7 separate regions of the Homo sapiens genome follow, and regions 1, 2, 3, 4, 5 and 7 are each linked to region 6. The links are contacts of gene promoters, found by promoter capture Hi-C in blood cells and fetal thymus (Javierre and others, 2016). All regions are on one chromosome and are shown on one strand. The core of a region is centred on a gene start or on the middle of the fragment in contact, and the rest is flanking DNA. Distances in the headings are between cores, read along the strand shown.

Region 1 (3,292 bases), core at 693-3,192, 280 kb after region 6:
CAATCCCATTACTTGGTATGTATCCAAAAGAAAACAAATCATTTTACTAAAAAGACACATGTACACACATGTTCACTGCAGCTCTGTTCTCAATAGGGAAGACATGGAATCAACCTAGGTACCCAGCAATGATGGATTGGATAAAGAAAATGTTGTACATATCTACCACGGAATACTATACGGTCATAAAAAAAGAACTGAATCATGTCCTTTGTAGCAACATGGATGCAACTGGAGGCTATTATCCTGAGCAAATTAAGGCAAGAACAGAATACCAAATACCACATGGTCTCATTTTTAAGCAGGAGCTAAACATCGGGTGCTCATGGACATAAAGATGGCAATAATAGACACTGGAGACTACTAGAGCAGAGAGGGCGGTAAGGGTTGAAAAACTAATTGTTGGGTTCTATGCTCAGTACCTGGGTGACAGGATCATTTGTACCCAAACCTCAGCATCACAGCTATATACCCAGGTAACAAAGTTGCCTATATGTACCCACTGAATCTAAAATAAAACCTGAAAAAAATTAAAAGCGGAAAAGTAGACAGAAAGAAAAGAGAAAATTCTAATATTGTTGGATGGGAAAAACCTATAAATGTCGATTAGATCAAGTTGGTTGATACTGTTCAAGTCTTCCATATCCTTAATTATTTTCTATTTGGACTAAAAATTATTGAGAAAGATAGTAAAATCTCTGACCATAATTATGAATGTTTATTTCTCTTTGCAGCTCTATCAGATTTACTTCATGTATTTTGAGGCTGTGACGTTAGTGGATAAACATTTATAACTGCTATGTTCTCCTAATGGGTCCCTTTTATCATTATGCAATGAACTTCTTTATCCTTGGCAATATTCTTTGCTGTACGGTAGATATTAACATAAGCTAGACAACTATAAACTAGAAAAGATGTAGAGTAGATTCAACTACTGAGATTAAATTTACCAGAATAATGAAAATGGAAACTAGATGATCAAGTGATAAGAGATAAGTGAGGGATAGGGAAAAAAGGCCACAGGCATGATACATGATTCCCAAAGAAATGTCCCCAATAGAGAAAATTAAATCTGGTTATTTTAATGATTCGCGAAAAAGAACAGACTTAGAAAGCAATTCTCACTTTAACTTGTCTACAGACAATCAGACAAGTTAATAAAGAAGTTCTAAGAACTCTACAATGGAGACACTTGTTCTAATGTGTGACAGATCTTTACATTCCCTAACCTAGCTCAGGCCACTATGGGAATGGGAATACCATATGGCTTTCTCACCAACAACTGTCTTTAAATCAGAATGGAAGTACAAGTCCTCATTTTCAATAACTAGATTTAACCACTTGCCTCCTACACCAAAAAAATGGGAGCAAAATGAACAAAAGAAACATCTTCTTGAGGCTTGCATCCCAAAAGGCAGCACTATTGAGTTTCATTCATATTGGTGATTGTAGGCTTTTGTGGGAGCCGAACTCCTCTGATAACATGATGAAAGCTACAAATAGTCTCTCCAGGAAATCTCATATACTCAACCATTTGCATATAATTTCAGGGGCTAACAGACCATGGAAGCCCAAGTTAAGAATTTTTAATGTAAACTCTTTAAAATATAGAAAGAAGAAAAAAAATCAGGTCTCCAATCCAGTTACCTTTTATCAAGGCAAGCTTGCTACAGACTTGATTAAATGCCATCATGTGTCACAATGAATCCTTACCTATCTTAGTGAACAACTGTATTTTTAATGAGGTATATATTAAAAGAAAATTAAACATACTTGCTTTATACATCTTGATCTGAACAATGGCATCCCATTTAAGGCCTAAATCATGGCCATCCTCATAGCAACTCTAGGATCAAATACAGTTTCTACTTACTTTGCTATCTTTACATGTAGCTCAAGTTAAGACCTATTCCAGGTAAGCCAAGCAATGGCCAACCCACTGCTGAATGATGAGGGACTTGCTTGATTCCACCCTTACCTGTTGCTATGCTTGGACTTTTCCCGGTCCTTCTCCTTCTTGTGTTCTTTGTGCCGGTGTTCTCGATCTTTGTGTTTATCTTTGTGTTTATGAGAATCTGCAACCATAAGAGATGAGTCAGTTAACAGGAGTCATGAGCTATCTTCTGTATGCCTACCTTGACAAGCTGGTCAAGAAGTACAATGACAGGATTCAAATGGCATGGTAGGCATAATAGCACATGCCACTGAAAAAAAAAGCTTTCACAAAGAAGCCCAGACAAAGCTCCCATTAGCCTGCTTCTACAATCAAGACAAGTTACTAATATGGGGAGGATAAGGAAATGAGAGCCAATTATTCTGTGGAAAGAAGCCACAGTTTGGCGTTTTTCTCCCTAGACATAATACTATTAAGCCTGACCTATAAATGATAACAAAGGGATAGTATTGAACACTGACTCTAAAGATCAGATGTTATAACTTCTGAAAAATCCAAACCTCAACAGATGTTTTTAAATGAATGTTAATAAGGTGTAATGTCTAAACAATAAAATACAATCAGCCCTCCATATCTACAGGTTCAGCACCATAGATTCAACCATTTGCAGACTGAAAATATTCAAGGAAAAATAAAAATAGTAATAACAATACAACCAAAAAAATACAAATCCCCCCACAATATAACAACTATTTATATAGTTACACTGTATTAGGTAATCTAAGTAATGTGGTGGTGAGTTAAAGTATATATAAGGATTGTGTAGGTTATATGCAAATACTGTGCCATTTTATATACAAAAAAACTTGAACATCTGCAAATTTTGGTATACTAGGGACAGGGGGTGGGGTGGTCCTGGAACCAATCCCCTACAAATATTAAGAAATAACTGTAATAATAAACATTTCAAAGACACCCACAGGTGCAATCCCCACTACAATAAAGATTTAGAACAAGTCCATCATCTCAGAAAGTTTCCCTCGTGCTCCTTCCCAGTCATTCCCCATCTTCCACCCCTTGCCCAAAGGAAGCACTGATCTGATCGTGCTGTATATTAGATTTGTCTAGATTTCTAGATTTCATGTAAATAACATCATATAGGATTTATTCTTTTTGTGTCTGATGTCTTTCTCTCAGCATAACATTTGTGACATTCATCCACATTGTTGGATATATCAGTTGTTGGTTCCATTTTATTGCTGAGTGGTGTTACATTGTGTGGATATACTGTAACTTACCCATTCACCTGCTGGACAATTTAGTTGTTTCCAGGCATTGGTTATTATTTATCTGCTACAAACATTCATATACAAATATTTCTATAGACATGTTTTCATT
Region 2 (3,584 bases), core at 643-3,142, 400 kb after region 6:
TTTGTTGAATGAAAAATGAATGCATGGGAGTGAGGATATTTCTTTGCAATACTGATTTTATTTCCTTATACACCCATAAGTGGGATTGCTGGATCATATGGTAGCTCTATTTTTAATGTTTTGAGGACCCTCCATACTGTCTTCCATTATGGCTGTACCAATATTCACAGTAGTTAAGATATGAAAACAACCTAAATGTCTGTCAATAGATAAATGGATAAAGAAAATGTGAATAATAAATGTGAATTATTATTCAAACTTATAAAAGAAGAAAATCTTGTCATTCCCAACAACATGAATGAACCTGGAAGGCATTATGCTAAGTGAAATGTCAGACACAGAAAGACAAACACTGTAAGATTTCGCTAACATGTGGAATCTAAAACAGCCGAACACATAGAAGGAGGGAGTAGAATGGTGGCTGCCCGGGGCTGGGGGTAGATGTTGGTTAAGGGGTACCAAGTCTCAGTTATGCCAGATGAACAAGTTCTGGAGAGTTAATGTAGAGCCGGGCGACTATAGTGACCAATGCTATATTGCATATTTGAAACTTGCTGGGAGGGTAGATGTTAAGTGTTCTCACCACACACACATACACAGAGGAAAAAAAAGAAAAGAAAATGGTAACCAAGTGAGGTGATGGGTATGGTACTTAGCTTGATTGTGGTAATCATTTCATAATGTGTATGTATATCAAACATCCAGTTATATATCTTAAAAGTATGCAATTTTAATTTGTCAATTATACCTAAATAAAGCTGAAAAAAATTAACAAGTGAAGGAGATTACTGCAGGGTAGGCCTTCTATAGGGTTCTCATGAGGAGGTGACAAACCCACTGGACTGACCTGGACCCTGACTGATGGGAGCTGGCCTTCCTGGTAGAGGAAATGGCATGAATGCATTGGACGCTGGAGGATGCAAGGGCAGCTCAGAGAAAATCAGTCTGCCCAGGCTGATAAACCTGGGTCAAAGGAACCATGAACAATGTTGGAGAAGGGCCTTGAATGCTGAGTCAAGGAGTTTAGGCCTCTCCCATTGGTTACCATTTCCGGGGATCATTGCTTCTGTTTTCTTACCTCTCCCATCTTGAAGATCAGCTTCAGGGTGGAGAAGGCCTGGGGGACAATTTCTCTTATTGATGTCACTCAGTTCTCCATTCAAGCCAGGGACAGAGAAGAAGCCCAACTCCAGCTGGACTCCCGAGAACATATGGGCCTTGGAAATCATAATAAGAGGAAGCCATCTTCTTCATTAATTGATTAATGTAATTAAAGAAAGATAAGTATGTCGATGCCGACCACATTAGAGTTAATTTGTACGGGCAATTAGCTGCGCTCCCTCCTTCATCTAACTGCCTCAGACATGCTTGTGCACAGCCACCCTGGGGGTCATTAGTTGGTGCTTGGTGGCCCCTGTGAACCTTTTTCTGGGCACCCTAGTGCCTAAAAAGAGCGTGTGAGCCCCCAGATGTGGATGAGATACAAGGTTCGTGGCCTTGGGAGAAGTCTCCTAACCTCTCTGATTCTCAGTTTTCTTGTCTGTGCAATGCAGATGATTACGGTGATCTCATAAAGGAGTTGTGAGCACTCAGTGAGGAGATGTATATGCCAGAGCCTTGTAGGGACCAGCACATCTCCCTCCTTCCAAGGCTATCTCCCTTTTCAGCTCTGGTGACCAGCCCTTGGCACACACTGCTCTGGGTCCTTGCCCTGAGATGTTCCTGTAAGACCTCTGGGGACTTCGTGGGTCTGGCTGTCACCCTACTTTGCCCCTAGCCTGATGCCGTCTCCATTCTCACGTACTCTCCTGGGGCTTCTCTGAGAGCTCCTGCATCTCTATCTTTCTCTTCCACCACCCCCACTCCTCCTGGGCCAACATACTCTTGCCAGGGAAGCCCTAGATCCCTCTCTGCACCACATCTCTCCTTGGTCATCCAGATCCCAGGATCCAGCTCCCTGTGGAATGTCCCAACGGGATGTGGCAGCTCTAAAGCTGATGGCTTCATTTCTCCTGTCCCAACACCTCAAATCAAATCCCTTTCTAGGACTCCCAGAGCTTGTCATCCTCCCTGCCCTGTGAATCCAGCAGGTCCCAACACAGCCACCTGGGGGCTCCCTCTCTGCTCACTGCTTCTTGCCCTAACCCCACCCCAGTGAAGGACTCCCTTTCTGTTCCTCCCCCTTGTTCCCATCCTCCATGTCTTGGCTCACGGTTTTCCCTGCATGAGTTCCCTCTCCCCGCCTCGCCCCCTTTATTTTTGAGATGAAGTTTTGTTCTGTTGCCCAGGCTGGAGTGTAGTGGTGCTGTCTTGGCTCACTGCAAACTCCGCCTCCCAGGTTCAAGTAATTCTCCCGCCTCAGCCTCCCGAGTAGCTGGCACTACAGGCAAGCGCCACCACACCCGGCTAATTTTTATTTTTTGTATTTTTTAGTAGAGACAGAGTTTTACCATGTTGGCCAGGCTGGTCTCAAACTCCTGACCTCAATCAATCTGACCGCCTCGGCTTCCCAAAGTGTTGGGATTACAGATGTGAGCCACTGTGCCTGGCCCCTTCTTCCTTTTCTTGAACCATGATCTCTCTTTTCAGCCACAGGCTCAGATTCACAACCACATTCTGTACATTTTCAATGGGACATCAAATTTCACATCTCAAAAACTCTGTTCTTGACCTCTCTGCCATGTGCTAAGGCACCCTAACCGTGTCCTCTTTTGAACATTCCCGTCAGGAAACTGCCCCTCCATCCAACAGTTGACTCAAGCCAGAAGCCTGGAGGTTATCCCTGACATTTCTCCCCCTCTCACCTCCATATCCAGTTCATCAACAAGTCCTATTAATTTTTTTATAGCATTATGGAGGTACAATTGACATACAATAAAATACACGTATTTGAAATGCACAACTGGAAAAGTTTTCACATGCCTATGCCCCTGGGAGAGCATCACCACACAGAAGATAATAAATAAACATATCCATCCCTTCCCAATGTTTCCTTATGATCCTTTGATATTCTCCCTCCTGCCCCTCCCACCTCTCCCGTGTATTTCATCCTTAGTGAACCACCACTCTGCTTTCTGTCACTACAGATTAGTTTGCTTTTTCTAGAATTTTATATAAATGAAATTATACAGTATGCATTTTTGGCCTGACTTTTAAACTCATTATAATTACTTTGAGACTCATCTATATTGTTACATGTGTCAGTAGTTCATTCCTTTTAATTGCTGGGTAGTATCCCACTGTATGGGTATACCGCTTCTTGTTGATTCTTTCACCTGTTGATGGCATTTGTATTTTTTCCAGCTTTTGGCTATTACAACCAATGTTGCTGTGGAAATATGTGTACAAGTCTTTGTGGGGGACAGAATACTTCATTTTATCTCATTGTGATTTTAATTTGCATTTCCCTAAGGAGTGATGATGTCGAACCTTGTTTTCATGTGGTTATTTGCCATCCCAATATCTTCTTTGGGGAAGTGTCTATTCACAATTTTTGCCTATTTTAAAAAATATTGGGCTGTTTTGCTTATTATTGAGTTTTGATAGTTTTGTATATTTGGAATATAAATTCTTTATCATATATG
Region 3 (3,654 bases), core at 795-3,294, 340 kb after region 6:
TCTCACTCTGTTGTCCAGGCTGGAGTGCAGTGGTGCCATCTCGGCTCACTGCAACCTCTGCCTCCCAGGTTCAAGTGATTCTCCTGTCTCGGCCTTCCAAATAGCTGGGACTACAGGCACGTGCCACCACACCCAGCTAATCTTTTGTATTTGTAGTAGAGACAAGGTTTTACCATGTTGGCCAGGCTGGTCTCAAACTCCTGGCCTCAAGATCCACCTGTCACGGCCTCCCAAAGTGCTGGGATTACAGGCATGAGCCACTGGGCCCAGCCTATTTCTTTTAGATGTATACCTAGTAGTTGGATTCCTGGATCATATGGTAGTTCCATTTTTAATTTTGGGGGGAACCTCCATACTGTTTTCTACAACAGCTGTACTAATTTACAGTTCCACCAACAGCGTGTAAGGGTTCCCTTTTGTCTGCATCCTCGCCAACACTCGTCTTTTGTCTTTTTGATAATAATGGTTCTAACTGGAGTGAGATGATATCTGTTTATGGATTTGATTTGCATTTCCCTGATGACTAGTGATGTTGAGCATTCTTTCAAATATCTGTTGGCCATTTGTAACTCTTATTTTGAGAAATGTCTATTCAGGTCTTTTTTCCACTTTAAAATTGGACTATTTGGTTTGTTTTTTGTTTTTGTTTTTGTTTATTGCTATTGAGTTGTCTGAGTTACTTATATATTCTGGATATTAACCAGATGTATAGTTTGCAAATATTTTCTCCCACTCTGTGTGTTATCTCTTCATGCGTTGTTTTTTTGTGCAGAAGCTTTTCAGTTTGATGTAATTCCATTTGTCTATGTTTGCTTTTGATGCCTGTACTTTATTTTTGAGACAGAGTCTTGTTCTGTCGTCCAGGCTGGAGTGCAGTGGTGTGCTCTCAGCTCACTGCAACCGCCACCTTCCGAGTTCGAGCGATTTTCCTGCCTCAACCTTCTGAGAGTAGCTGGGACTACAAGTGTATGTCACTACCACCAGCTAGTTTTTGTATTTTTAGCAAAGACAGGTTTTCGCCATGTTGGCCAGGCTGGTCTCGAACTCCGGACCTCACGTGATCCGCCCACCTTGGCCTCCCAAAGTTCTGGGATTACAGGCATGAGCCACTGCACCCAGCCTATGCCTGTGCTTTTGAGGGCTTATCTAAAAAACCCTTGTCCAAAACAATGTCAAAAAATGTGTCCCCATGTTTTCTTCTAGTAGAGTTTCATAGTTTTGGATCTTAGATCTAAGTGTTTAATCCATTTTGAGTTGATTTTTGTATATGGTGAAAGGTAGGGGTCTAGTTTAATTTTTTTGCATATAAATACCCAATTTTCCTGGCACCATGTATTGATGACACTGTCCTTTCCCCCGATGTGTGTTGTTTGCACCTTTGTTGAAAAATGAGTTGGCTGTAGTTGTAGGGATTTATTTCTGTTCTCTCTATTCTGTTTCATTGGTCTATACATCTGTTTCTAAGTAGTTTGAAGTACTAGCCAATGTATTTCTTTTTTTGTATAATGCCTTTTATCTTATCACATTTCTCTGGTTCCTTTGGCCTTGGAGGTGGTTTTTATAGCAGAAGTGCAGAAAGTATGAAAATAAGCAAATATTAGCTTTTTCTCCTCTTTAGTATGGGAAATTTTAAGCATTTACAAAAGTAAAGAGAATAATGTAATGAACCCTTACATACTCATCACCCAACTTAAAGTGATCAACTTATGGGTAAACTTTTTTTTTGAGACGGAGTCTTGCTCTGTCGCCCAGGCTGGAGTGCAGTGGTGCGATCTCAGCTCACTGCAAACTCCGCCTCCCGGGTTCATGCCATTCTCCTGCCTCAGTCTCCTGAGTAGCTGGGACTACAGGCGCCCCCCCACCATGCCCAGCTAATTTTTTTTTTTTTTGTATTTTTAGTAGAGACGGGGTTTCACCATGTTAGCCAGGATGGTCTCGATCTCATGACCTCATGATCCACCTGCCTCGGCCTCCCAAAGTGCTGGGATTACAGGTGTAAGCCACCGCGCCCGGCCAGATAAACTTCTTTAATTATATGCCCATCTACTCTCTCCTTTATGGAATAATTTCTGTGCAGATCTCAAACATCATATCATTTCATCAGTAAACATTTCTCCATGTCGCTCTAAAAAAGGAACTTTAAACATGTAGCCACAATTATTATTATTACACCAAAAAAAACCAACAACAATTCTTAATATAATCCAATATCCAGTCCATGTTTAAATATACTGAATTGGCCAGGCACGGTGGCTCATGCCTGTAATCCCAGCACTTTGGGAAGCCGAGACGGGAGGATCACTTAAGGTCGGAAGTTCAAGACCAGTCTGGCCAATATGGCGAAACCCTGTCTCTACTAAAAATACAGAAATTAGCCGGGCATGGCGGCATGCACCCGTGGTCTCAGCTACACGGGAGGCAGAGGTTGCAGTGAGCCGAGATGGTGCCACTGCACTCCAGCCTGGGCAACAGAACTACACTCTGTCTCAAAAAAAAAAAAAAAATATATATATATATATATATATGTCTATGTGTGTGTGTGTGTGTGTGTATACCCAATTGTTGCATGTAATGTGTTTATTTGAAACAAGATCCAAACAAGGTCCACACAATCCACTGATTGGTAATAATTAAGTCTCTTTTACCCTTTAGGCTCTCCCTTTCTCTCTTTTTTAAGTGTGGAAGGTGGAATAAGCAGGATTGGAGAGATTTTCCCTTGCTCTGTCTTCAGTTCGTTTATTGAAGAAATAAGAGGCTGGGCAGGGTGGCTCATGCTTGTAATCTCAGCATTTTAGGAGGCTGAGGCTGGTGGATCACTTGAGGTCAGGAGTTCAAGACCAGACTGGTCAACATGGTGAAAACCCGTTGCTACCAAAAAACAAACAAACAAATAAAAACACCACCACAACCAACACCCCCCCCCCCAAACAACAAACAAAAGCAACAACAAAATTAGCCAGGTGTGGTGGCACATGCCTGTAGTCCTAGCTACTTGGGAGGCTGAGGCAGGAGAATCACTTGAACCTGGGAGGTGGAGGTTGTAGTGAGCGGAGATTGCACCACTGCACTCCAGCCTAGGCCACAGAGTGAGACCCTGTCTCAAAAAAAAAAAAAAAAAAAAAAAAAAAATATATATATATATATATATATATATGGCATTTATCTTGTAGAGTCTTCTATCTTCTGGTTTGTGGATTGCATCCCTGTGGTGTCATCTAACACATGAGTCCCCAATCCTTTGTACTGGTCCTCGGCCTGATTCCTAACAGGCCACACAGCAGGAGGTGAGTGGTGGGCCACTGAGCGAAGCTTCATTTGTATTTACAGCTGCTCCCCATCGCTCGAATTACCACCTGAGCTCTGCTTCCTGTCTGATCAGCAGCAGCATTTGATTCTCATAGGAGTGCGAACTCTTGTGAACTGCGCATGTGAGTGATCTAGGTTGCATGCTTCTTATGAGAGTCTAAGTAATGCCTGATGATCTGAGTTAGAACAATTTCATCCTGACCCCTTCCCTTGTCTGTGGAAAAAATAGTCTATGAAAAATCGTCTTCTATGTTTCATCCTGACTCCCTCCCTTGTCTGTGGAAAAACTGTCTTCTAGCCCAAAAATTGTCTTCTACGGCATGGTCCCTAGTGCCAAAAAGGTTGGGG
Region 4 (3,599 bases), core at 744-3,243, 330 kb after region 6:
TAAGGGTTTGATGGGAGAAAGATAATGCTAAAAACTCTAAATTCTCCCACTGACCCAGAACTTAGCTTTCCTTCTATTTTTGGAAAACATAACCTAATAATTTAAACAATCTATTTAAAACTTTTTTTTTTTCTTCTGTGGACTTTTCCCTTCATGGTGAGCATTTGGGTTCAAAGGGGGAGACAGAACTTAGGGAAAATATTTGCACAAGTCCTTACAGAATGTTCAAACCTAGCCTTCGAACCCCCAAATTAAAAGCAGGTGAGGCCCCCACTGCTGGATGTTGGATAGCCCCTGGGCTCAATCCTCAGACCTTTTTCCTTTGTCCTCTTGATTCACTATCTTATTCACTCCTGTGGCTTTAAATACCAACTATATACTGAGAAGTTCTAAGTTCATACCTAAAATCAGGGCCTTGCCCCCAGGTGTCAAACTTATGTATCCAGCTGCCTACCTAATATTCCTATTTGGACTTCCAACAGGCTTCTTAAACATAATGTGTCCCAAATCAACCCTCTATCTTTCCTCTCAAGCCTGTTCCTCCTTTGGTCTTCCCCAATCATAGTTAATGGCTCAGGTCATCCTTGACTATTTTTTTTTTTTTTTTGAGACAGAGTCTCACTCTGTTGCCCAGGCTGGAGCGCAGTGGCAACATCTCGGCTCACTGCAACCTCCGCCTCCCAGGTTCAAGCAATTCTTCTGTCTCAGCCTCCTGAGTAGCTGGGACTACAGTTGCACACCACCATGCCCAGCTAATTTTTGTATTTTTAGTAGAGACAGGGTTTCACCATATTGGTCAGGCTTGTCTCGAACTCCTGACCTGTCGATCTGCCCACCTCAGCCTCCCAAGGTGCTGGGATTACAGGCGTGAGCCACCACGCCCCGCATCCTTGACTCTGTTTTGCCTGCCTACTCCCCCTTATCCAATTTGTCAACAAATCCTGTTGACTTCACCTTCAAATATCCTGATGTTAACCATTTCTCACCATGCCCTTTGCTTTCACTTTAGCCCAAATTGCCATCATCTCCACCTGGTTTAATGTGGGAGTCTCCTAACTGGTGTCCTCTGCTCTATGTTTGTCATCTCATGGTATATAGTCAGAACAAGTGATCCTTTAAAACAGAGTGGTCCTATTTAAGACTTGAGATCCTGGCCAGGCATGGTGGCTCACGCCTGTAATCTCAGCACGTTCAGAGGCCAAGGTAGGAGGATGACTTAGAGCCAGGAGTTCAAGATCATCCTGGGCAACAGTGAGATACTATTTCAACGAACATTTTTAAAAATTTAGCTGGGCCTGGTGGCACATGCTTCTAGTCCCAGTTATTCAGGAGGCTGAGGCAGAAGGATCTCAAGCCCAGTAGTTTGAGGCTGCAGTGAGCTATGATCATACCACTGCACTCCAGCCTGGGTGACAGAGGAGACCTTGTCAGTTAAAAAAAAAGAAAAGAAAAGAAAAGAAAAGAAAAAGGGCTGGGCACAGTGGCTCACACCTGTAATCCCAGCACTTTGGGAGGCTGAGGTGGGCAGGTCACCTGAGGTCAGGAATTCGAGACCAGCCTGGCCAACATGGTGAAACCCCATCTCCACTAAATACACAAAAAATTTAGCCAGGCGTGGTGGCGGGCGCCTGTAGTCCCAGCTATTTGGGAGGCTGAGGCAGGGTGAATTGCTTAAACCTAGGAGGCTGAGGCTGCAGTGAGCAGAGATTGCACCACTGCACTCCAGCCTGGGCCACAGAGTGAGACTCCATCTCAAGAAAAAAAAAAAAAAGAAAGAAAGAAAGAAGAAGGTCGGGTGCGGTGGCTCATGCCTGTAATCCCAGCACTTTGGGAGGCTGAGGCGGGTGGATCACCTGAGGTCAGGAGTTCGAGACCAGCCTGACCAACATGGTGAAACCCCGTCTCTACTAAAAATACAAAATTAGCCAGGCATGGTGGCACATGTCTGTAATCTCAGCTACTTGGGAGGCTGAGGGAGGAGAATTGCTTAAACTCAGGAGGCAGAGGTTGCAGTGAGTCAAGATTGCACCATTGCACTCCAGCCTGGTCAATAGAGTGAGACTCTTTCCTGAAACAAAACAAAACAAAACAAAACAAAACAAAACAAAACAAAACAAAACGTAAGATCCTGTCACTCTTCTGCGCAAAACTCTCCAGTGGCTCCCATCTCATTCAGGGTAAAGTCAAAGACTTACAATGGCCCCAAGGCTCTGCCACACCTGCTCCCCTCCAAGGCCTCCCTTGACCTCATCTGCTGGTGCTGTACACCTTGGTCACCTCTTTCCAGCCACTCTGGGCTCTGTAAAAGCCTATCACACACCACTCATTCTCCAGCATTAGCCCTTTCATTTGTGGATCTTTCTACCTCGAACGTCCTTCCTCCAGATATCTCCATGGCCTAGTGCCTCTCTTCTTTCAGATCCTTGCTAAACTAAGACAGGCCCTGACTACTCTATTTAAAATTACAACCCCCTTCCCTCAGTTCTTCCCTCTTTCCATCCCTGCTTTATTTGTCTCCAATGCACTTGTCACCATTTGGCCTACGGAATATTTTACTTATTGTTTTCCCCGTGTAGTATGTAATCTTGATGACAGCAGCAATTCTTATCAGTTTATTTATTTATTTATTATTTTTGAGACAAAAATAATATTATTTTGTCACCCAGGCTGGAGTACAGCAGTACAACCATGACTCACTGCAGCCTTGACCTCCTAGACTCAAACAATCTTCCCACTTCAGCCTGCTGAGCAGCTGGGGCTACAGGTGTGCACCAACATGCTCAGCTAATTGTTTATATTTTGTAGACACAGAGTCTTCCTATGTCGCCCAGATTGGTCTCGAACTCCTGAGCTTAAAGGTGTTCTGCTTTGATATCCCAAAGTGCTAGGATTACAGGCATGAGCCACCGTGCCCGGCTTTCTCAGTTTATTTAGTGCCACATTTCTACCATCCACAGAAGTGCCTGACACACATAAGATACTCAATTAACATTTGTTGAATAAATGAATTATGGGCTGCAACGGGCTCCTAATATGTGTCAAGCAGAGGCCTGGAATGTACCAGAAAACTCCTTATAGTGAATAACATGGTTCCCATTTTTTTTTTTTTGAGATGGAGTTTCGTTCTTGTTGCCCAGGCTGGAGTGCAATGGCACAATCTTGGCTCACTGTGACCTCTGCTTCCTGGGTTCAAGTGATTCTCCTGCCCCAGCCTCCCGAGCAGCTGAGATCACAGGTGCGAGCCAACACGCCCAGCTAATTTTTTTGTGTTTTTAGTAGAGATGGGATTTCTCCATGTTGGCCAGGCTGTTCTGGAACTCCTGACCTCAGGTGATCCACACTCCTCGGCCTCCCAAAGTGCTGGGATTACAGGTGTGAGCCACCGCACCCGGCCATGATTCCCACTTTGCAGATAAGAAGATTGAGGCTTAAGGCTGAGTGTGGTAGCTCACGCCTATAATCCTAGCACTTTAGGAGGCCAAGGCGGGTGGATCACCTGAGATCAGGAGTTTGAGACCAGCCTGGCCAACATGGCGACACCTCGTCTCTATTAAAAATATAAAAATTAGCTGGACGTGGTGGTTCACACCTGTAATCCC
Region 5 (3,272 bases), core at 356-2,855, 360 kb after region 6:
CCACTGTCTGGATGCTAGGGATGCAGATGGCTACTGATTTGGTCATTAGGAAATATATTTTATCACACACACACCTTTCAGCCAGAAACCAGGAGGATAGCACCCTGTGTTCATACTAATAATTCCAATTCACACTTAGGTTTTTCACTTAATCTTTTCTATATTACATCTCTCCTTTCTTCCATATTGAGAATCAGATCCTCAATAATACAGGAGATGATAGAATTAAAACAGTCTGTAATTGCTTATTTTCCTTATCCCACATTACACACGCAATGGTCTCAAAATGACAGCAGTAATAGCATCAACAAAATAATTACTGGAAACAGTTTAAAAAGTTTTTTTTTTTTTGAATATGGTCTTCCCATTATTCCTATTTTAAAAGTGGTCTTGTAGGGCAGTGGTCCCCAAGCTTTTTGGCATCAAGGACCGGTTTTGTGGAAGACAGTTTTCCACAGATTGGGGTAAGGGATGGTTTTGGGATGATTCAAGCACATTGCACTTATTATACACTTTATTTCTATTATTATTACATTGTAATAGATAATGAAATAATTATACAATTCTTCATAATGTAGAATCAGTGGGAGCCCTAGCTTGTTTTCCCGCAACTAGATGGTCCCATCTGGGGATGATGGGAGACAGTGATAGATCATCAGGCATTAGATTCTCACAAGGAGCCCGCAACTATATCCCTTGCATGCACGGTTCACAATAAGGTTCGCACTCCCATAAGAATCTAATGCTGCCACTGATATGATGGGAGGTGCAGCTCAGGCGGTAATGAGAAATGGGTAGTGGCTGTAAATACAGATGAAGCTTCACTTGCTTGTCTGCTGCTCACCTCCTGCTGTGCAGCGTGGTTCCTAACAGGCCACAGACCAGTACCAGTCCATGGCCAGGGGGTTGGGGACTGCCGTTGTAGGAGGTGGAGCAAGATGGCTGAATAGAAGGCTCCATCTCCCCATCCCCCACAGGAACATAAAATTTAACAACTATCTACACACAAAAAAGCACCTTCATCATAAGAACCAACAATTGGATGAGCACTCACAGTACCTGATTTTAACTTCATACTGTTGAAAGAGGCAATGAAGAGGGTAGGGAAGACAGTCTTGAGTTGCTGATGCCACCTGTCCCCATCCCATGGCAGTGGCTTTGTGGCGTAGAGAGAGAATCTCTGTGCTTGGAAGAGGGAGAGCGCAGCTATTGTGAGACATTGCATTGAATTTGATGCTGCTTTGTCACAGTGAAAGCAAAACCGAACTGAACTCAGCTGACAGCTGATGATGGAGAGAGTATTTAGACCAGCCCTAGCCAGAGGGTAATTGCCCAAGGGAATTGCCCAACCCAGTGGATGGAACTTGAGTTTCAGCAAGCCTTACCACCATGGGGGTAAAATGCTCTGGGTTGTAAATAAACTTGAATGGCAGTCAAGGTCACAAGGACTGCAGTTCCTAGGCAAGTCCTAGTGCTGAGCTGGGCTCAGAGTCAGTGGACATGGTGGGGGCACATGACCTACTGAGACACTAGCTGAGGCAGCTAAGGGAGTACTTGCACCACCCTCCCCCCAACTCCAGGTAGCACAGCTTGCAGCTGTGCAAGCTCCTTCCACTTGAGGAGAGGAGAGGGAAGAGTAAAGAGGACTTTGTCTTGCATCTTGGATGCCAGCTCAGCCACAGTAGGATAGGGTACCAGTTAGGGTCATAAGGTCCCCATTCCAGGGCCTAGCTCCTGGATGATATTTCTAGACACACCCTAGGCTAGGAGGGAGCCTACTGCTTTGAAGGGAAGGACTCAGTCCTGGCAGGATTCATTACCTGCTGATTAAAGAGTCCTGGGACCTTGAAGAACCAGCAGCGATACCCTGGTATCTACCATAGGCCTTGGTTGAGACTCTGAGACATGTTGGCTTCAGGTGAGACCCAGCACATTTCCAGCTGTGGTGGCTATGGTGAGAACCATAGTGAGAACACTTGCTTGAGTAAAGCAGAGGAAAAAGTAAAGGGGACTTTGTCTTATACCTTAGATACTAGCTCAGCCACAGTAGACTAGACCATAAAGAGGGTTCTTGGGGTCCCTGGTTTCAGGCCTTGCCTTTTAGATGCCATTTCTGGACCTGCTCTGGGTGGGAAGGAAACCCACTGCCCTGAAGGATGAGTCCCAGGCCTGGCAACATTCACTACAAGCCGACTGAAGAGCCCTTGGGTCTTCAGTGAACGTTGGTGGTAGACTGGCAGTAGTCCTATGGGCCTGTCGTGGTGATGGCCACAGGTTGAGGCCCCTCTGCTTATGGAAGTGGGAGGGAAGTGTGGGAAGGATTATGTCTCGTGGTTTGAGTGCCAGCTCAGCTGCAGTAGAATAGAACAGCAGGTAGATTTCTAAGCTTTTTGACTCCAGTCTCTGGCTCCCAGACAGTATCTCTGCACCTGCTTGGGGCCTGGGGGAACTGGGTGCCTTGAAGGGACGGACATAAGCCTGGCTGGCTTTGCCACCTCCTGATTGTAGAACCCTAGGGCCTTGAGCAAACATAGGCAGTAGCCAGGTGGCAGTTACAGCAGGCCTTGGGCAAGACCTAATGCTGCACTGGCTTCAGGTCTGACCCAGCGCAGTCCCAGTGATGGTGACCACAGGTGTGCTTGTGTCACTTCTCCCCCAGCTCTAGGCAGCACAGCACAGAGAGAGAGAGAGAGAGAGAAAGTCTCCATTTGTTTGGAAGAAAGTAAGGGAAGAGAACAAGAATCTCTAGTAATCCAGAGAATTCTTCTGGATCTTATCCAAGGCTACCAAAGTGGTACCTCTGCAACTCTGCAAGAACCACAGCATTACTGGGCTTGGGGTGTCCCTTAATGCAGATGCATTTGCAGTGACCAAACACTTAGATCACAACACCCAAGTCCCTTTGAATACGTGGAAAGCCTTGTCCTTCCACAATACTTGTCCTTCACAGTCTGGGCTTGTTTGTACCTGTCCACAAGAAAGGCAAGTACAAACAAACCCAGACTGTGAAGAGTACAACAGATACCTAACTGTTAAATGCACAGTCACTGACAAACATCCACAAGCATCAAGACCATCCGGGAAAACATGGCATCACCAAACAAACTAAATAAGCCCGTGGGGACCAATCCTGGAGAGACAGAGATATGTGATCTTTCAGATAGATAATTCAAAATAGCTATTTTGAGGAAACTCAAAGAAATGTAAGAAAAACCAGAGAAGGAATTCATAATTCTATCAGACAAATTTAACAAACAGATTGAAATAATTAA
Region 6 (3,584 bases), core at 251-2,750:
GATCACGGGTGGCCACAGGACATTAGGAGAAAAGGCACCAGATTATCTGGGTGCTGATCCCCACTCCGCCATTTGCTAGCTGTGACCATGGGCAAGTGACTTCATCTCTCTGACCCTCAGTCTCAGCCTCCAAAATGGGAATAACATCAGGCACGTGTGAGTAACTAATGACTTTGTGTAAAGCCCTGGAATGCAATAAAAACCTGTATGTACACCTATCAGCAGCAGCATCATGACAGCCCCACTCATGCAGGCTGGTCCTGTGGGCACTGCAGGTCATACTCTGATGAACTGCCCCTGCCAGCAGTTGAGAGTTTGGACTTCTTTTATTTATTTATTTTTTTGAGATGGAGTCTTGCCCTGTCACCCAGACTGGAGTGCGGTGGCATGATTTTGGCTCACTGCAAGCTCCGCCTGCTGGGTTCAAGCAATTCTCCTGCCTCAGCCTCCCGAGTAGCTGGGACTACAGGCGTGTGCCACCACACCCGGCTAATTTTTTGTATTTTTAGTGGAGACGGGGTTTCACCGTGTTAGGATGGTCTCGATCTCCTGACCTCATGATCCACCCGCCTCAGTCTCCAAAGTGCTGGGATTACAGGCGTGAGCCACCGCGCCCAGCGGAGTTTGGACTTCTTAACTTGGCACTCAAGGCCATGCACAATGGTGGCACCACTATTTGCAAAACGAGCATGTGCACTCCACGTAGGCCTCACACCCCACCTTGGGGATGTTCACAGGCCTTCCAGGCTAGACTACAACTCTAGCACAGGGAAGCCAGAGCAAGCTGCCCTAGGACTAGGCTCTCAGCCCTCGGGGCTCCCAGGTTTGGGTGGATGAAGGGTGTGGCTCTCCACCGAGGACCAGAGGGAGCAGGAGAGTAAGCACTCCTAGTGCCCCAGTAGAGAGAAAGCGCCACCCCAGCCCCCAGCAGCTACAGCATCTGATCTGCCCAGTCTCAGGGCAAGCAGGGCAAGGGCCAGTCACTGTTTTGCAACTGAGGACACTGGGTACCAGAGAAAGTGGCTGTCCTCCTCAAGGTCACACAGTCAGGCTGGGGTAAAGCTGGGCCAGCCTCCCCTGGGAGGTTTCGACGTCTCCTCTCCAGACTCTACGTTCTGGGTGTCCAGGGGGCCTGCAGCCGCTGGGCCAGGGAAAAAGGGACAAAATGAGGCCAGTCCCTCCACCCCTGCGTCCCCATCTTACAGCTAGGGGTGGACCCAGGCCCGCGGACAGGAAGGAAGGAATGTAGGATGGCAGGACAGATGGGCAGGGCGGGAGGGGAGAGGGTCATCTCTTCTCCCCCCGAGTTGGGCCCTACCTGGGGAGCTGCCCACTGGAGCTCCTGGACTCAGAGCCGCCGCCTCTACCTACGTGCACAGGCTCCACAGGTGAGTGTCTTCGGCCCTCAGTCACTTGGCGCTTCCGGGTCCTCTAAGACAGGGTGAGAGCACGGCTCCACTCCTTCTACGATCCTAGTGCGGCCTCCACAGGCCCCAATCTGCCCAGGCTCCACTCCCTGGAAAGACCCCGCCCCTGCTCCGATCCCCGCCCAGGGCGCCCTTTGGCCTCGGAGGCGGGGGCGGGGCCAGACTTCATGCCCCGCCCACCAGACCCCGCCCCAAGTCCCTGTGCCACCGCCTGCCCCACCTCCAGAAAAGTGTGGATTTCGGAACGGGGCGGACCTAGCTCCTCCCAGATTTGCTTCCAGCTTGCTGTGTGATCTTGGGTGAATTCCTTCCTCAATTTGATCCCATTTCCTGTTTTGTCAAGGGGGAAAGCCGCCTTGCAGGATTTTAGAGATGACATGAAATGACTTTGCGCGGCTCCTGGCGCTCAAACGTCCCCTCCTGGGGGCAGCTTTTCCTGAACCCACCCGTATCTCCCAGACTGGACAGGCCCCTCGCGTCATCTGTTCGCATAGCCCACAGTTGTAATTTCATATTTGCTTGAATGACTACTTGATTAATGTATATCTCTTCATTTAAATTTGAACTCTGAGAGCAGGTCACGTACATCCTTACACTCCAGCGCTTATCAGTACCTCGCCTGACAAACAGCAGGCGCTCCATAAATGCCCGCACCTTCATTCCATCCCTGGGACGTTCTGGTCGAGCGGCAGCGGGCTCAATACTGACACTGGCCAGCAGGGGGCAGGCGGTGATCAGCCTTCTGGCCCAGCCGCGCTCCCTCCCTGTCTGCAGGCACTGCGGGAGGGGACAGGTGAGCCCAGGTGCGCCGAGGCACGCGGAAGGTGCATTTACTCTCGTGCCTTGGGCAAGGCCCGGGCCGGGAACGGCTTTTTCCTCTTGGATCTGTGGCTCGCGGCTTTCCTGGACCAAAGACCTTTCCGACGCCCTATGGCCCCTGCAAAGAAGCTGCCCTGAGAAGGGCCTGGAGATGAAGTAATTTGTTCTAAAAGAGAGAGGGCACCGAGGAAAGGCTTGGCGGAGCAGCAACGGCGACGAGCCAGGCTTAGAAACGACTGGGCGGTGAGGAGGAGAGGTAGCTGCCATTATTCTGACTCAGGGTGACAGAACCTGTTTGGAAGTGACTGGCCTCAGTTGTCCTCATTTTGGCAGAAGTCATTTAGTATCAGTCCTGATCCCAGGTAGTGTCTGGCTGCTATCTCAGAAGAGCCCTGTTGGGAGCAGAGCTATGTCAAGGTGGCCAGGAGGGCAGCGTCATACATACCATTTTCTGTAACATCAGGAAATCCCTGAAGGGAGCCCGAGAAGGAAGGAAGGAGAGGTCACAGGTTGGGGCTACAGATGCCGAAATCAATTTACCTCTTTGAGCCTCAATTTCATCGGCAAAGGTGGTGATAAAAGCTACCTTGCAGGATTCTATTGTGAGGATTTACAGGATGAATTAAATAAGTGGTTCTCAACCTTGACTGTGTGTTAGAATCACTGTGCCCTAGACGAATACTGATGCCCCGGATACTGGGAGTTTAAAAACCTCTCCAGTTGGTTGTAATGTACAAACAAGGCTGAGAACTGCTGATCCAAATTAAATGCAGAGCACAGCGCCAGGGCACACACTAGGCATTCAGGAATGTTTATCACATATTTATTTTTATTTAAAAAATTTTTGTGTCACACATTTTTAAAGATGGAGCACAAATTGTTTTCATTGTTCATTGTTAGAGGAAAAAAAGTTGATATAAAGGTTGTTGCAGAAATTGCATTTGCGGCTGGGGTGAGGTGGCTTACGCCTGCAATCCCAGCACTTTGGGAGGCAGAGGTGGGCGGATCGTCTGAGGTCAGGAGTTGGAGACCAGCCTGGCCAACACGGTGAAACCCCATCTCTGTTTTTTTGTTTTTGTTTTTGTTTTGAGATGAAGTCTCGCTCTGTCACTCAGGCTGGAGTGCAGTGGCACCATCTCTGCTCACTGCAAGCTCCACTTTCCGGGTTCACGCCATTCTCCTGCCTCAGCCTCCTGAGTAGCTGGGACTACAGGGGCCCATCCCCATGCCCAGCTAATTTTTTGTATTTTTAGTAGAGACAGGGTTTCACTGTGTTAGCCAGGATGGTCTCGATCTCCTGACCTCGTGATCCACCCACCTCAGCCTCCCAAAGTGTTG
Region 7 (3,507 bases), core at 551-3,050, 260 kb after region 6:
TGTCTGACAGGAATAGGTCTAAGAGAAACTGCTTTAAGTTATCTGTGGTAGGCAATAAGAAATTTTAAGTAACTTAAATAATTTATTCTTCATGAATTCTGTATTATTTGAAATTTCTACAATAAATATCTATTGCCTTTTCAGTAATAAAAATTTATATAATCTTCATGTAAGCCTTGGGTATACTACTTGTTTAGCAAACTCTACTTCTCATAGTTCAGAGAAATCAGTCCATTAATCACAAATTCCAAATGAGTAAAAGCCAATTAATGCAGTTTCTATATGTATTATAAAGAAACACATCACATTTATTCTTTAAACTCCTCCTTTTTGTTTTCAAAAGTCAAAGTTTTAAGAAAATACTCACTCATCCTCATCTCGAGGTCTCTTTAATGGCTTTATATCCTCTTTAGGAGGAACAAAATAGCCATCATCTTCAGGTTCATCTTTAATTTGTGGTGGACTAAAGAGAAAAAAAATTGCTGGTCAGAGTGCTAGAACATCTGTATTCTATTAATACAAAGAAGGAATATGTCATTTCGTTGAAAAGAAGCTAACAGAAATAAGGATAACCACGTACATATCATGAAGATGTTCTGTGAGCACTTTTTCTCACTTCAATCCTGTGAAGTAGATAGTATTTGTCCTCATTGTACAGGTGAATGGGCAATATCAGGATTTGGGATCAAGACTCTTTATTCTAAGTCAGAATTCTTTCTCACTATTTCTTAGCTATCTTTGCCAGCATGGCACGAACCACTCCAGAAATAAACCTAAGGTGTTTTCTTGCCTTACATGGAAACCTACCATATATTTGACCCCACAATCTGAACTGATTGTTCCAGTACTCTAAAAGCTAAAGTACAGCTTTTACAAGGAAAGGAATAAACATTGATTTCCCCAACTTAGTACCTTAAAGTTCTAAAAATGTGGCAATAACGTACATGTATATCTAGCTACATGGAAAAATAACCAAGCTGACAACATTACAACAAAAGTAGGGCACGTGTTAAACCAGAATAAACAGAAGGTATCCTATGCCAAATCTATTCATTGTTCAACGTCCTAACTTAGGTTTACTTTATATACAGAAGAGTGTCTCACTACTATTTGTTAAGATCTTACCTTCAAAATATAAATATAAAAAGACAATCCTTTGAGACAAACATCTTGAACCAAAACAGAGAAGGAACAAGTAAAAAACACCATAGAGCCCAGCAATCACTGCAGCCATGGGATGCTCCCTGGCCTGGCACATCTCTTCAGAACCTCACTGCCTTAACTTAGTACAAGAAATGGCCTCCTTACATGCAGCTGCCCCCTGTGGAGGGATCCAAGGATTAAGAATCCCGACCCCACTGCAAAGTATATTCACAGGGTTTCAAGAGTACCTCCGACCAAAAAAAGCATACTGGGTCCCCTTGCTTGTGATAGAATTTGAATGTTTAAAGAACTTATTTTAGCACCCTAACCAAATGCCAGCTTCTACAGCTGTTCCCCCTCCTGCCTGAATACTGACACAGACCCTAGGGTCCAGAAGGAAAGAAAGCCTATCATTTACCCAACTAGTTAAGTAAATGCTAGATCCTAAGTTTGTCACACTGAAGACAAAAACTGTGGGAAGGGTTACTTAGGTCTGAAGGAAGAAGTCCTAAAACAATTTACCTGAAAACTGTATTCCAGTGAAGCATCTGGATTCTCTACAAAGACATATACACAAGCCAGCAAGGAGTCCAGCAAAGTGAACATAGAGACCACTGCCTCAAAGAAGGCTGTGTTCCTAATCTTCTAACCCAAAAAGTCTGAAAATGAATTCATGACTATGCACCAAGTCCAAAAAATTTATTCATATCAGTTTAATAAAAATCCAAGGCAGTCTCTTGGCAGAGATTAGCCCAGCAGTGCCTCCTCAGTCACTTTATCTCAGAAATCAAAATTCCTAGGGCAGCTTGCAGCTCTAATGCTTCCTGAATTGTATTATTCTGCATTCCTAGAACAATTATGAAACATGCCTGAAGAGGGCACCTGCTTTTCTCCTTGTCTAAAGGACCCCAGAGTACCAGGCACAATTGTCAAAAATTTTAACAAATGAAACTGAAAGTTCAAAGATTCAAGGAAGCAAAACTCTCAAAGTGTTTTGTCCCAGTCAATAATGCAAACACTTACAACCATTTCTAATAAATCCTTTCTGTCATTCAGTGAAGTGAGAATATGTAACAATAAACATCTAGTTGTTTCGAAACTAGAGGGGACCTCTGGGCTTATTTTAGGAAATTGAGGCTGAGGAAAACAAAATTATAAAGGTAAAAACAGTATAGGAAGTAACCTCTAGATTTTGCGCATTTTCCTCTCCTTCTAGAAAAGAGATAACATAATTCTACCCAAATCTACACTCATCCCTAACATGTAGGTCAAATGATCTTTTATATATAAGCCTCCCAATATTACTAATGATGAAATCAGACTAAGTGATTTTTCAGAAAACTCCATAATCGCTACTGAATATGAAGTTTCTTTTTAGAGAAATGAAAATGTTCTGGAATTAGTGAAGAGGCTGCAATACCTTGTGAATATACTAAAAAAAAAAAAAAAAAAAAAATGGTACACTGTATACCATTAAAATACAAATTTTGTGATATGCAAGTCAAATCTCAATTTTTAAAAATCTCTCCTGTCAACCTTCTCTATTCGAAATAACCTTCTGGAAAATGTGCTGGTCAGTCTCACTATATGGCACTGTAGAAAGGCTCAGGTTGGCTTAGACCGAGTCTTCTCACTGCTGAGCTTCTGGGAACCATCAAGATGGCCAGGTCAGTGGGTTTTGGGTTAACTCAGACAACACTACAACACAGGCAGCTGGCCTGCTGTCCACCCAGAGAAAGGGAAGCCCACGCAGCAGCAAAGTCTTACCTAGAGAAGCCATTTTCCTTCTCCTTCTTTATTTTTGCATCCCCAGAGGCTCGAACCTGAAAAGTAAAACAACAGTAACTAGTACCTTGAAAGGACTAAATTTGAAGAAACCTCTTTTTGAGAATATGTAGCATCAGTTCCTGGGACATCATGATCACAAGCTGGCTCTTATGTTACCAAAACTGAACAGATGAACTAAAGGTCCTGAAATGTGTCCAAAACTCGTTTTTAACAATTCTTCTGGGTGAAACTGTCCAACTCACTGAGAAAGGTTTCCCTTAAAAATGGCAGCTTTTTACTTTTAAGTGGTGGCAGGTCTCTTTTCCCCAATAAATACATTCCACTACTCAAGAATTTGCCATTGGCAGTGCAGAGAGGAAACAAAAGCAAAAACCAAACAAACAAAACATATAAACTGGGCCAGATGTGATGGCTCATGCCTGTAATCCCAACACTTTGGGAAGATGAGGTTGGAGGACTGCTTGAGGCCAGGAGTTCGAGACTAGCCCCGCCAACACAGTGAGACCCCCATCTTTATTTAAAAAACAAACAAACAAAAAAGTAGTCTATGCCCTGTCTTCTATTACTTAGGCAAAG

The links. Contacts are between HindIII fragments. The CHiCAGO score rates a contact against its expected background, and 5 or more counts as called.
Region 1: a fragment that was not itself captured here is called in contact with the fragment with the promoter of LPIN3 in region 6 in 1 of 17 cell types (naive CD4 T cells); the score reaches 5.1 in naive CD4 T cells.
Region 2: a fragment that was not itself captured here is called in contact with the fragment with the promoter of LPIN3 in region 6 in 1 of 17 cell types (naive CD4 T cells); the score reaches 5.3 in naive CD4 T cells.
Region 3: a contact is called between a fragment that was not itself captured here and the fragment with the promoter of LPIN3 in region 6, in 1 of 17 cell types (activated CD4 T cells). The highest score is 5.6, in activated CD4 T cells.
Region 4: a contact is called between a fragment that was not itself captured here and the fragment with the promoter of LPIN3 in region 6, in 3 of 17 cell types (naive CD8 T cells, naive CD4 T cells and non-activated CD4 T cells). The highest score is 7.3, in naive CD8 T cells.
Region 5: a fragment that was not itself captured here is called in contact with the fragment with the promoter of LPIN3 in region 6 in 11 of 17 cell types (total CD4 T cells, naive CD8 T cells, total CD8 T cells and 8 more); the score reaches 13.6 in total CD4 T cells.
Region 7: a fragment that was not itself captured here is called in contact with the fragment with the promoter of LPIN3 in region 6 in 3 of 17 cell types (naive CD4 T cells, activated CD4 T cells and total CD4 T cells); the score reaches 6.9 in naive CD4 T cells.

What each region holds. Positions count from the first base shown.
Region 1 is chr20:41,060,177-41,063,468 of GRCh38, reverse strand. It overlaps TOP1 (DNA topoisomerase I), which reads right to left. Exons shown (of 21, transcript NM_003286.4): 3 at 1,979-2,075. Among named protein-coding and RNA genes, the nearest start is that of TOP1, 33 kb to the right of the region's middle. The HindIII fragment of the contact is 554 bases long and covers 1,666-2,219 here.
Region 2 is chr20:40,936,754-40,940,337 of GRCh38, reverse strand. No RefSeq gene overlaps it. Among named protein-coding and RNA genes, the nearest start is that of TOP1, 90 kb to the left of the region's middle. The HindIII fragment of the contact is 4,726 bases long and covers 1-3,584 here.
Region 3 is chr20:40,996,982-41,000,635 of GRCh38, reverse strand. The region is part of intron 1 of LOC100128988 (a long non-coding RNA gene); the gene reads right to left. The region is part of intron 1 of LOC105372621 (a long non-coding RNA gene); the gene reads left to right. Among named protein-coding and RNA genes, the nearest start is that of TOP1, 30 kb to the left of the region's middle. RefSeq lists an enhancer at 3,051-3,625. The HindIII fragment of the contact is 2,534 bases long and covers 778-3,311 here.
Region 4 is chr20:41,013,886-41,017,484 of GRCh38, reverse strand. All of the region lies in intron 2 of LOC100128988 (a long non-coding RNA gene), which reads right to left. Among named protein-coding and RNA genes, the nearest start is that of TOP1, 13 kb to the left of the region's middle. The HindIII fragment of the contact is 6,484 bases long and covers 1-3,599 here.
Region 5 is chr20:40,978,709-40,981,980 of GRCh38, reverse strand. It overlaps LOC100128988 (a long non-coding RNA gene), which reads right to left and starts at 1,268. Exons shown (of 3, transcript NR_145525.1): 1 at 1,060-1,268. The HindIII fragment of the contact is 1,567 bases long and covers 822-2,388 here.
Region 6 is chr20:41,338,737-41,342,320 of GRCh38, reverse strand. LPIN3 (lipin 3) reads right to left here and starts at 1,500. Exons shown (of 20, transcript NM_022896.3): 1 at 1,319-1,500. RefSeq lists a silencer at 1,519-1,678 and an enhancer at 1,839-1,888. The HindIII fragment of the contact is 12,951 bases long and covers 1-3,584 here.
Region 7 is chr20:41,077,041-41,080,547 of GRCh38, reverse strand. TOP1 (DNA topoisomerase I) reads right to left here. Exons shown (of 21, transcript NM_003286.4): 5 at 2,911-2,966; 6 at 368-463. Among named protein-coding and RNA genes, the nearest start is that of TOP1, 50 kb to the right of the region's middle. The HindIII fragment of the contact is 9,236 bases long and covers 1-3,507 here.